2 separate regions of the Homo sapiens genome follow, and region 2 is linked to region 1. The links are contacts of gene promoters, found by promoter capture Hi-C in human tissues and cell types (Jung and others, 2019). All regions are on one chromosome and are shown on one strand. The core of a region is centred on a gene start or on the middle of the fragment in contact, and the rest is flanking DNA. Distances in the headings are between cores, read along the strand shown.

Region 1 (3,353 bases), core at 435-2,934:
GATTGTAAAATGTATATGAATAGGCACAGGTCCTAGAATAGTTACAATAATTTTGAAAAATAAGAATGAAGTATGAGAAATCATGCTACCTGATTTCAAAACTTATTATATAGCTACAGTAGTCAAGAATGTGGAGGATAGACACATAGATCAATTCAACAGAATAGAGAGCCCAAAACATAAAATGTAAAACTATAACACTTTTAGAAAAATACCTAAGAGAAAGTTTTTGAGAAATAGGCTTTGGTGAAGTTAGACTGAACACTAAAAGCTATCTATAAAAGAAAATATTGATAAATATGACTTCACTAAAACTAAAAGCTGTTCTGTGAAAGTCCCTGTTAAGAAGATAAATAACAAGCTACAGACTGGAAGAACATATTTGCAAACCGTTTACTAACAAAGGACTTGTATGTAGAATATAAAAAGAACTTTCAACAGCAAATAAACTAAACCATGCAATTAGAAACGGACAAAACACATGGAAAGACATTTCACCAAAGAAGATTCAAGGACGGCAAATAAGCACATGAGATGTTCAATATTACTTGCCATTAGGTAAATGTAAATTAAGGCCCTAAAGAGATATCACTACAGATCTATTAGAATAGCTTAAAAAAAAAAAGCAGCAAAACCAAATGCTGGCAAGGATGTGGAGAAACGTAACTTCTCATGCATTGATGGTAGAGATGGAGACTTGTACAGCCACTCTGAAAAGTAGTCAATCTCTTTAAAAATTAAATATACACATTACAGATTCAATAATCAAAACTTTTGGCATTTCCTATAGAAAGGAAAACTATGTTCACACAAAAACCTGTACATGATTCTTTATAGCAGCTTTATTTTTAATAGCTCAAAATGGTAATCAACCAAAATGTTCTACAAGAGGTGGATGGTTAAATAAACGGTGATACAGCCTCAGCAATAAAAAGAAACAGCCATTAATACATGCAACAACTTGGATGGATTTAAAGGGCATTAGGCTGAGCGAAGAAAATTCAATATCAAAAGGCAGCATATTGTATGATTTCCCTTACGTAATGTTCTGACAAAAGTTAAGAGAGAACATATTAGTGGTTGCCAGGAGTTAGAGATGGTGGAGGGAGGGGCTAGGTGTGAGTATAAAAAGCACCAGGGAGATTTTTGTGGTGATAGAAGAGTTTGTATCCTGACGGTTACGGGAATCTACACTTGAGATAAAAACATGCAAACACTGTACCTGTGTCAAATTCCTGGTTTTGTATTGTTCCGTAGTTAAATAAGATGTAATGAATGAAAGAAACTGGGTGAAGGGTGGGTACGCAGGATCTTTCTGTATTATCTTTGCCATTTCCCAAGTTCTATATTTTAACTATCTTAATTATTTTTCAATACAGAAAATAATTTAAAATAAGCCCTATTTGCCTTGGGTAGTTGTGGCTCCCATTATTACGCAAGAGGAGAAACTTGAAACTGTGGAACCCCCCAATACCCAGTTTCACATACAAGCATTACCTGACTGGGGCCATGCCCTGAGAAAGGCGCTGGGCGGCAGCAAGTTGGTGAGCCAGGGAAGTCTTCCCTCGCCCTGAGGGTGCGGGGAAGCGGCGTTGGCGCCACTGAAGCTGGGTGTGAGGGAGGCGTCACCGAGTTCAGCCCCACCCTCCACCGCTCCCCAAGCGGGTCCGGCGTCCGCATCGCATGGCCAGAAGGCGGGGAGCCAGAGGCGCCAGGACCCTCGCGTGGCGCTCCAGCACCCCAGACCGTGGCGGCGCCTCGCCTTAGGGAAGAGCAAGGGAAGAACTTTATTTGAACCGCGAACATTTTTTGGTCACTGAGATCGAGTCTCCCAGTGCTTTGGCTTCCCGCCTCTTTATCGTGGGTTTGATCCCTGAGCTGCTCTCCTTTCCCGAACCTCCCGGGGTGCAGCCTAGAGCCCTCCCGCGCGGCTGACTCCAGAGTAGAGGAAGGGAGGCGGCCTCCGGCTGGTCCCCCGAAGCCCTCGCTGCCCCGCAGATGCGGATGGCCAGCCAGTAGCGGGCGGTGGCCCCGCGTCCCGGGAGCGCACAGCAATGCAGGCGCTTAACATTACCCCGGAGCAGTTCTCTCGGCTGCTGCGGGACCACAACCTGACGCGGGAGCAGTTCATCGCTCTGTACCGGCTGCGACCGCTCGTCTACACCCCAGAGCTGCCGGGACGCGCCAAGCTGGCCCTCGTGCTCACCGGCGTGCTCATCTTCGCCCTGGCGCTCTTTGGCAATGCTCTGGTGTTCTACGTGGTGACCCGCAGCAAGGCCATGCGCACCGTCACCAACATCTTTATCTGCTCCTTGGCGCTCAGTGACCTGCTCATCACCTTCTTCTGCATTCCCGTCACCATGCTCCAGAACATTTCCGACAACTGGCTGGGGGGTAAGAGTCGCGCCCCGCTCCTTCGCTCCTTCTCTCTTAACCCTCTGCCTTTCAGGGGATCTCTCTCTCTCTCTCTCTCTCTCTCTCTCTCTCTCTCTCTCTCTCTCTCTCTCTCTCTCTCCTCTCTCGTCTGTCTGTCTCTCTCTCGTCTGTCTCTTCCTTACACTTCTCTGTCAAATGAATCCGGTGCTCTTTCTTAGAACTTCGCCACCTGTGTTCACCTGGACATAAGTTCTTTTGGCCGCCTCTGATTCCCCTCCAGTGCTTCCTCCTTGTGGCTTAGAGACATAGGTTGGGGAAAAGCTTCGGAAAGGTCCCGAGCAGTGAGGCAGGAAGTCGCACCCCTCGCCACTTATTTCAGCTCCCTTTCCCGTCATTACCAGGTTTTTCTCCCCTAGTTTTCTTACTAAAAGTGAGATAAAAATATTTCAAATAATTAAACCAAAGTTAAAAATCTCATTTCCTCATTCCCCCACCCTCCAGCCTCACTTCCCAGTTGCTTGCAGACAGCTTCTTGTACCTATGAGCATAAAACAAATATAATTCATGTGCAGAAAAAATATATTGAACTAGTCCTTTTAAAAACTGTATTAAGTGTCATGCAGGAAGAAGGAACACAGAAAACTGATGCCCTCCTATTATAAAAGAAGAGATAACATTCTCCTCCTTCCGTATAATGGGGGAAAAAAAATGACAGAGGAGAGGTGGAGTCACTGAGTTGGGAGCAGTGTGTGGAGGTTGGAAAAAAAGATATATTTCTTGAGATGATCCAGCTTTTCCAAGAACACAGCTGGAGAATGCCCTGGTGTAAACCCAGGAGCAGTAGTGTGTTGTATTCTCACCAGTGCTTAAGGTGCACCATGGGCCTCCCCTTTTTCACGGTTGGGTGTATTCTTGTGGCCACATCAAAATGGTTAGAAATGTAAGAGAAATAGATCATTATGCCTTCAATCTCTGCT
Region 2 (3,353 bases), core at 397-2,896, 440 kb before region 1:
GGCAGGGAAAGTAGTAGAAAATGGATCGAGGGATGGAATAATGGCCTGAGAAAACTAGTAGTTGGAAAAGTTAAAGATTAGTACTGGAATTTAACATAAGCTTAATGCCAACTATTTACTGTGTTTGGTGTGTTACTAAAAGCAAAACTCAGGGGTTCTCTATTCCCTTCTCTGTAGCCTGAATCATTAATACGAAAGACTGGATATACCCTGGAAAGTCTTAAGCCTTGTCTCATGGACCTTCACCAGACCTACCTCAAAGCACCACAGCATGCACAACAGTCAATAAGAGAAAAGTACAAAAATTCAAAGTAAGAATTAACTTGGATATTGAAGCTTACTTTTCTAGATTATGGTTCAGAGATCTTTGACATTTTAACCTTATTCATGAATCTGCCATAGCCTCCTTGAGAAGCTGTTCTCTAAATTGGTTATGTGTTTGAAGAAGGTTGTAGTTCATGCTTTCTGCCCTGGGTCTGGGGGAGAAGAGAGAAGGAAGGGGGCATGCATGTGTGTTTCAGGGACCAGACAGTGTTTCTAAAACCATCAAGTCGGTCAGACAGAAATAGCATTTTTTAGTTCCCAATACATGAGTACAAACATTATTCCATGATCTCCTTTACCCAGTGAGTGTTTACTAAAAATGCTTTTTTTTTCCCTACTTACAGGTATCATGGTGTTTCTCTCCTCAACCCACCAGAGACACTAAATCTGTAACAATGAAAGACTGCCTTTGTTTTCTAAGATGTAAATCACTCAAAGTATATGGTGTACAGTTTTTAACTTAGGTTTTAATTTTACAATCATTTCTGAATACAGAAGTTGTGGCCAAGTACAAATTATGGTATCTATTACTTTTTAAATGGTTTTAATTTGTATATCTTTTGTATATGTATCTGTCTTAGATATTTGGCTAATTTTAAGTGGTTTTGTTAAAGTATTAATGATGCCAGCTGTCAGGATAATAAATTGATTTGGAAAACTTTGCAAGTCAAATTTAACTTCTTCAGGATTTTGCTTAGTAAAGAAGTTTACTTGGTTTACTATATAATGGGAAGTGAAAAGCCTTCCTCTAAAATTAAAGTAGGTTTAGGAAAACAGACCCTCAAATTCTGACATTCATTTTCCTAAGCAACTGGATCAATTTGCTGACTTGGGCATAATCTAATCTAAGCATATCTGAATACAGTATTCAGAGATAGATACAGTAGAGATTCCCCAGACTTTTTCGCTCTTTGTAAAACCTGTTTGTTTAGGTTTTGCGAGGTAAACTCAACAGAGGTTGGGAGTGGAAGAGGGTGGGAAGCTTATATGCAAATTAACAGACGAGAAATGCTCCAGAAGGTTTATTATTTTAAAGCACATTAAAAACAAAAAACTATTTTTAAAATCCTGCTAGATTTTATAATGGATTTGTGAATAAAAAATACCCAGGGTTCTCAGAATGGAATAAATATCCCTTTTAATAGTTATATATACAGATATACAACTGTTAGCTTTAATTGGCAGCTCTCTTCTTTTTTCTTCTTTTCACTGGCTTTTTACTTGGTGCTTTTTCTTGTTTTGCACTGGTGGTCTGTGTTCTGTGAATAAAGCAAAGTAAGAATTTACTAAGAGTATGTTAAGTTTTGGATTATTGAAATAAGAGGCATTTCTTAGTTTTCCAGTAGGATCTAAAATGTGTCAGCTATGAGTAAGACTGGCATCCAAGAAGTTTATATTATAGATTTAGGTCCTAATTTTTATAAATCACAAGGTAAAAAAATCACAGAACAGATGGATCTCTAATGAAAAAGGGATGTCTTTTTGTTTATAGTCATGTGGCAAGATGAGAGTAAAACCAGAGAGCAAACCTCTATAAGTGTTGAGTATATGTATACATTTGAAATAAACCAGAAATTTGTTACCTTATTTTCTTTGGATTCTTGTCTGGTTCCAAAATGATCATTTCTTCTTCTTCACTATCTGAGAGTATTATGGGAGCATCTTTGTTTTTTTATTAATTTAAAAAAAAAAAAAAAAGTTAAGCAATCTCTTGCAAAATTTATTTCTACATGAATTTATTTCTATCAGACGTTCTAAACTCTTATTTCTGGGGCTGGGCGTGGTGGCTCACACTTTTAATACCCACATTTTGGTAGGCTGAGGCAGGTGGATTACCTGAGGTCAGGAACTCGAGTCCAGTCTGGCCAACATGGTGAAACCCCAGCTCTATTAAAAATAATAGAAAAATTAGCCAGGCGTGGTGGCATGTGCTTGTAGGCCCAGCTACTCGAGGCTGAGGCATGAGAATCGCTTGAACCCATGGAGGTGGAGGTTGCAGTGCCACTGCACTCCAGTCTGGGTGACAGAGCAAGACTCCATCCCAAAAAATAAAAATAAAACTCTAGGTGGAGGCTTAATCTTTTCTTTAAATCAGCTTCTTAGAGCACTCTAGAACTCATCTGTAACATTTGTTTCTTTAAACTCTTATTTCCTACAGGTGCTTGAATGGTGTGACAATTTGGTACATGTCATAATAGAAAAGCTAGGGGGAAATGTATATAGCATCTTTTGTAGAGACAACTGAATTGTTTGTGCTACTCTATTCCTCCAGAAATAGTTCCAGTTTACATTCCAAGAAATAAAAGAACCCATTTCCCATATACCTTTGGCATTGCTGGTGTTTTTAATACTGCCCAAAATACAGTAACAAAAAATGCCATGTCATTTTTCTTTGGATTTTATTTGTATTACTGTCAGGGCTGACCATGAAAAATATTACTGGCCATTGTATACTTTGAGAACTGCTCCATGTATTTTGCCCATTTTTCTCCTGCTTATTAGTTAATGATATACATAAAATGTGAATTAACCCATATCAATTATTTGTATTTTTAGTTTTCAATTAGTTTCTCCCTTTGTTCACATGCTTTAGGAAGGCTGTACCTGCTCCATTTTTCCAATGCTTAGGTCCACCTTCATTATATTCAGTTGAAAATATTATTCACTGTTAGAAGAATACACTAAACAAACATATAAGAGGTATATGCAAGTGCAAGGATATTAACAGTGAGAAAATGGAAACAACTTACATCTTCAACAATAAGAGAATTGTTAAACCAACTAGTTATATTCAATGCTATACAAGTATATGCAGCATTAGCTTACATCACTGCACAGAGAGTAAATAAATACCTGGAACAAGTTCTGGAAGAATAATACCAAATAGAAGTAACCACTGGGAAATTTGAGTAAGGGTCCCAATCAATGGGAAATTTTTTCCTTACCTATTTACTTAAGTAAAAAAACAAAAAGCCCAGGCTCCAGTAATGTTCATAAGCAATAATTTCTCTCTTTGAAAACAGAAGTAT

Evidence for each region. The method cuts DNA at HindIII sites, captures the fragments that hold promoters and counts their contacts. A contact is called where the count stands out against the background at its distance.
Region 2: a fragment that was not itself captured here is called in contact with the fragment with the promoter of QRFPR in region 1 in 1 of the 25 tissues and cell types used here (H1 embryonic stem cells).

Annotation. Positions count from the first base shown.
Region 1 is chr4:121,379,349-121,382,701 of GRCh38, reverse strand. QRFPR (pyroglutamylated RFamide peptide receptor) reads left to right here and starts at 1,684. Exons shown (of 6, transcript NM_198179.3): 1 at 1,684-2,394. The coding sequence starts at 2,055. RefSeq lists an enhancer at 1,114-1,898. The HindIII fragment of the contact is 9,664 bases long and covers 1-3,353 here.
Region 2 is chr4:121,815,002-121,818,354 of GRCh38, reverse strand. It overlaps EXOSC9 (exosome component 9), which reads right to left. Exons shown (of 12, transcript NM_005033.3): 11 at 1,908-1,986; 12 at 1,334-1,583. The coding sequence ends at 1,499. CCNA2 (cyclin A2) reads left to right here. Exons shown (of 8, transcript NM_001237.5): 7 at 178-311; 8 at 669-1,911. The coding sequence ends at 717. Among named protein-coding and RNA genes, the nearest start is that of CCNA2, 7.2 kb to the left of the region's middle. The HindIII fragment of the contact is 4,620 bases long and covers 1-3,353 here.